2 separate regions of the Homo sapiens genome follow, and region 2 is linked to region 1. The links are contacts of gene promoters, found by promoter capture Hi-C in blood cells and fetal thymus (Javierre and others, 2016). All regions are on one chromosome and are shown on one strand. The core of a region is centred on a gene start or on the middle of the fragment in contact, and the rest is flanking DNA. Distances in the headings are between cores, read along the strand shown.

The links. The method cuts DNA at HindIII sites, captures the fragments that hold promoters and counts their contacts. A CHiCAGO score of 5 or more calls a contact.
Region 2: a fragment that was not itself captured here is called in contact with the fragment with the promoter of ADAMTS19 in region 1 in 3 of 17 cell types (megakaryocytes, total CD4 T cells and erythroblasts); the score reaches 7.4 in megakaryocytes.

The regions. Positions count from the first base shown.
Region 1 is chr5:129,459,004-129,461,703 of GRCh38, reverse strand. It overlaps ADAMTS19 (ADAM metallopeptidase with thrombospondin type 1 motif 19), which reads right to left and starts at 1,406. Exons shown (of 23, transcript NM_133638.6): 1 at 1,222-1,406; 2 at 1-602. The coding sequence starts at 1,312. ADAMTS19-AS1 (ADAMTS19 antisense RNA 1) reads left to right here and starts at 1,015. Exons shown (of 2, transcript NR_125748.1): 1 at 1,015-1,279; 2 at 1,625-2,145. RefSeq lists an enhancer at 1,485-2,447. The HindIII fragment of the contact is 6,646 bases long and covers 1-2,700 here.
Region 2 is chr5:128,904,008-128,906,707 of GRCh38, reverse strand. All of the region lies in intron 6 of LOC105379168 (a long non-coding RNA gene), which reads right to left. Among named protein-coding and RNA genes, the nearest start is that of SLC27A6, 60 kb to the left of the region's middle. The HindIII fragment of the contact is 231 bases long and covers 1,265-1,495 here.

The DNA of each region.
Region 1 (2,700 bases), core at 157-2,656:
AGCTCCGGTGTAGAAGCAGCCTGCGTCTGGTGGCGCGGGAGGTTGCGGGGCGGATGCTGCCCCCGTGGGGCCGGGGCCGGGATTTGGCCGCTGTTCCACTGCGAAGCGCGGCGCCAGGAAGCGGCCGTCTCTCCGGAGCAGCAGGTACAGGTCCCGAGAGAAGGCCGGGATCCGCAGCAACACTTCGTCGCCATCCGGCTCGGCATGCTGGGCCGGGGGCGGGGACGGGGGCGGCTGCGGGGGAGGCGGCGGCTGCCACGAGGCCGGGGCGCCCGGGGACAAGGCGGCAGCCCCGCTGGATCCCCGCGGCAGCTCCTGCGACTCGAGCTCCTCGTCCTCCTCACCCTCCGACGGCGGCGGGGGCCGGAGCCGGGACTCTGATCGGCCCTCCACGGGCTCCTCCAAAGGCACCGGAGCCACAGAGCGCACCTCGCGTGAGCTGCCGGCAGCCTGCGCCCGGGCGCTTCCGCCGCCCCCAACGCCGCGCACCCAGCCCGGGTCCGCGCTGCCCCCGCTGCCGCCAGCCGGGTCCACCGGCTCCCGGCGCCAGAGCGCAGGAAACACGACTTCCCACTCCTCGCGGTCGGGGGCGAACTGCAGCTCTGCGGGCGGGGCAGACAGAAGTGCGGGGCTTAAAGTGCCGCGGTTCCAGTAGCACAAACATTTCCAAGCTCACAGTCCATAGATACAGGGCGCTCGCGTTGAATGCAATGGAGACCACCCGTCTAGACCCTGAAACTCTGCAACCCCAGAAGCCTTGCGATCAGATTACAGACCCCAGCATTTTCAGAGTAAAAGTACGATTATATTAGGGGCGGGGGAGGGGGAATCAAAGTTTGGTGACCGCACTTCATTGTTGAAAAGAAAACCGATGCAAAGACTCCAGCACGAGTAAACGATTTCTGAAGTGTATGCTAGAGCAGAGCGTTGCTATCAACTTAGGTACGTTCTAATTTTCCTCCAGGTGCTGTAAACGTACCTTTGCAAATATTATTGCTCTAATTAGAAGGAAACTATTCCACATACGGTTAAAACGAGGCCGGCAGAAGTGTGCTTCATTTCCGAACTTGACCCCTTAACCTGCACCTCAAGCTCATTTTTATTGCTACCCACTGAGCCCTGCTCTCCACGCACCGGTTGCACCAGCCCTGCCGACCCGTACGTTCGCGGTCTCCGCTGGGATGGCTGGAAAGGAAGCGAGAAAGTCACGGAAGAACTTACCTGAAACGATCCCATTCGACAGGAACCCCAGCTGGTAAAGGAGGCAGCAGCAGCAGATGTGAGTCAGGCGCATCTCGCGGTTCTTCCCCATACTGCGCTCCCGCGGCCGCGGCTTCTCGCCCGGCGCACGCCTCCAGCGCGATCCACTCCGGGGCGCAGCGGCCTCCCCGGAGCGCTAGGAGGCCGGGCGGCGAATTTGCCCAGGCCCTTTGTCTGCCGGGGGAGGGGGTGTTGGGGTGGGGGGGTAGGCTGTGTGACTCCGGGAGGCCGCCGAAGCCCTGGCGGGGGTGGGGTGGGGTCGGGTTGGGGGAGGAGCGGGGGAGGCAGCCCCGCGGCCCCGCAGCCCTCGAGCTCCCTGGCGAATTAGGAGATGAGTCTATTTTCTGTGTTCTGGACGCTGCAGGAGTTTCCGAGGCCGAGCAGGCTAGTGCTGGAGCCCCACAAGACAGACCCACAGCCAGCCGAGAGCCGGGAGTGCTGCCTCTGGACAGGCAGAGGACTGCCCGGCGCGGGCAGGAGAGCTGTGGTGTCCGAGCCGAGGCTCGCCGCCTGCACCCGCGCGGAACGGGCGGAGGCTGGTGTCACAGTCTCAGCAACTTGGTGTGCCAAGCTCCGCACACTCCTCACGCTCCTTAGGACGCACCGCTGAAGGCTCTCACCCGCAGCGGCGCGGGAGGGAATGAGTAGGGAGATGGGAAGACACGACTAGAGAGGTGGGTTGTAGAGCAGAAAAGAATCAAGCACATCTGACCAGAAAAAGGGACCAAGGGGTGCCCGCCAAGCGTGACTTTGCGGGACAAAGGTCCCAGAACACCGTGCACGTGCTCAAACGCCGGTTGGGATGGGGTGGGGACCCAAAATCCCTCACCTGACTATTGATTGGCCACTCGGGAAGGCCTGATTTGCATCCATCCCCTGCCCCCGTGTGCAGGTAGAGGTGCCTCCCCCTTCCCATCCCACTCCTCAATCCAGCGCCTCTTTTTGTCAAATTCGCACATCACACAAGGCAAAAATTAGTGCAGACTTGACCACAAAACTGAGGCCTCATTTATCAAAGGCCTTTGATTTGTCTTCCCATCTTTTTCGGAATTTTCTAAGCCCGGAGATAATGTAATTCGTCATGGAATATGCTTTAAAGTTTCCCAGGACAGTAGGCACCCTTAGGTTTCAGAGCCTCTTTTCCTTCCTTGTCTTTCTAGCTCCCCATTCATCAGTACTATCAGTTTCTCTCCTTCCCCTACCCCACCCCATTACACACACACACACACACACACACACACACACACACACACGAGTCCTAAAAGGAGTAAGAGTAAGGGAATCAACATTAAACATTATATTCTAAAGATCTCAGACCAGGTGAGATTATTTTGTCTTCTGTACTTTTTACTTGTACATAAAAAAATATGTTTTTGCTGTTTCTGTCCTCTTTGGGGCAATTCAACCCCATATATTTTTTTTTCCTTTGTTGCAATTCTC
Region 2 (2,700 bases), core at 131-2,630, 550 kb after region 1:
TCATATTTGCTTAATTTACATAACCAGAGCTTCACATCTATGTCAGGATATGAGTAAAAGTGATATTATTATCCATATTGACTAAATAGAACCCAAATACCACGAAGTTTGAATGGCAGCATGAGGGTCCTTAGTAGTCGCGTAGAACAGGAATGAGAACTTCTACCTCTCCATCCTTAGGTTAGAGCTCTTTTATTTATGACACTTGTTCTGTTTAAATACACCTACCATCTTGCTACAATTATTTCAATTGTTCCAACCTTTATGGCAATACATACTTTCAACACATGTTTAGTGAATACCCACCAAGTGCAGGCACTATTCTGGAAGTTGGGGATACAACCATGAACAAGCCTGACAAAATCCTTTCTCTTGCAAAGCTTACATATTACTAGGGGAGAACAATAAACAAATAAATAAGTAAAGGTATGGTAGATTGGTTGACAATAATAAATTAGAATCAGGGAGGGAGAGGAATACTAGAGGTACAAATGGTGTTATGATGTCTTTTTTTTTTTTTTTACAGGGCAATCATGGAGGTCTTCATAGAAATGAATTGAGCAGATACCTATGAAACTTGAAAAAGCAATGTGAAATCTAGGGGAAGAACTTTATAGAGGGAACAGCAATTTGAGATTATTTCTCTTGTGAGTCTAAATCGAAAGAGAGGTCAAATAACATTTGTGAGGAAGGATATATCCTCTCATGGGCCTAAAAGTAAATAGGTTTTTTCCCCCCCCGACCAGGTAGCTTAATTTGTAAAAGAACAAATTTTGATCTGATATTATAGAGGGAAAAATACGTGTTGCTCTTGAACTTAAGAAGATGAACAACAACAAAATAAGCAATAATAATAAGCAACAACAAAAAAGCAATAATATAAACTACTTATATTCTAGAAGGTAGAAGGCTACCCTTTAAATCATCCAAAACCCAGAGACATTAAAACTATACACAAATGATTACTGTAAATAGGCACCCTTGCATGTGCTGCCATCTTGTGGTACAGGAGAAAAGTGTTATTATTTGACTGTATTAATGACTACTACCCACGTTCTTAGTTGACCACATCTGTGTCCTGGGAGAGAAAAGTATGCTTTATAACTGATCTTTAAGATTAAATACCTTTGAATTAAATTAACATTGTATAAAGCAACTTAAAAGTGTAAATTATGAAAATAAAGACTTTATCAGCTTGACTGTTTAAAAATTACTTCACAATACATAAATTTTTTTCACAATGCACAATACATAATTTTAAGCTTAATCTCAATATCGTGTAATACCCAACTCAACCTCTTTCTCTACTTAGGCAGATCTTGTCTTTCATTCTTGTTTAATTGCTTTCTATATGTTATACAAGATACACAATGATAGTTTTCACTCTTCCCCAGTCCACTTTTGTACTATTTAGCCCTACATGACTTGAATGGACTGGTTGCCTGGGTAATTATGAGCAGTGTACTTGGAAGAATAGGATTCCTGAGGGGAAGCTTCCCAAGAAAGCGAATTAATCTATCTTGGAAAGTAACTCCCTTGTCTCCTGGAGTGTTAAAGAACATCTCCTATGGTATGTCATTATGACACATTTGTCTTAAGAGAAAAAATGTTTGAGAGATTGCTTTATGGTAACACCTAGTCACAGATTTAACCTTTGCCTCCATCTGAAAGAAAAGTTGGCCAGCAAACCAAAAGTCTGGGAGAAGCCATCAAGAGGTCAAAATTGTGCAAGACTCCTTGTTTACTTGAACCATCTTACAGAGTCATTCCTTCAGATTCACATAATTTTCCCTTAGTTCAACATACAAAGCAAGACATTTAAGTTAAGTCTACTCATCTATATAGCGCTCTGTGTTCCTGCTCACACCTGACCCCAGATCCACCACTTTAAAATATTGTGTGTGTCACTGGGGCCTGTCGGGCAGTGGGGGGCTAGGGGAGGGATAGCATTAGGAGAAATACCTAATGTAGATGATGGGTTGATGGGCGCAGCAGACCACCATGGCACATGTATACCTATGTAACAAACCTGCACATTCTGCACATGTATCCCAGAACTTAAAGTATAACAAAAAAAATTTAAAAAAAAATATATGTGTGTATGTGGTGATGAGGTCTCTCTATGTTGTCCAGGAGATGAGGTCTCTCTGTGTTGACCAGGCTGGTCTTGAACTTCTGGCCTCAAGTGATCCTCCCACCTTGGTCTCCCAAAGTGCTGGGATTACAGGCATAAGCTACCACACACGGCCTCATCATTTTTATTTTGCAATGGATTGCTACATGGTGCATCTTACAGACCAATCTTATGTCATCTACTAGACAGTATTTTTATATTGTCAAAAGGTATTACATTTACGTTTGGTTCTATAATGGTAACTACCCGTTGTTTAACCTTGGTTTCAATTTAAACAGATTTCAGTGTTTATGGCAGAGATGGCCAGCGGGCCTCCTATATCTACTCTTCACTCCTTGTCTGTTAGAAGTAACAGAAATCCCAACATTCACTTGCACACTCAGTGCCCAGAATGAAGAGTGCATTTCCCAGCCTTCTAGACATGGCTATATGACTAAGTTCTAGCCCATGAAAAGGAAGCATAAGTGTTGAGTGATTCCTTCTGGGGGCCTTTATTAAAAGACAGCTTGCACCCTATATGTTTCTTTTTTAAAATATTCGATCTCAAAAAGTAGCATATGAATGGG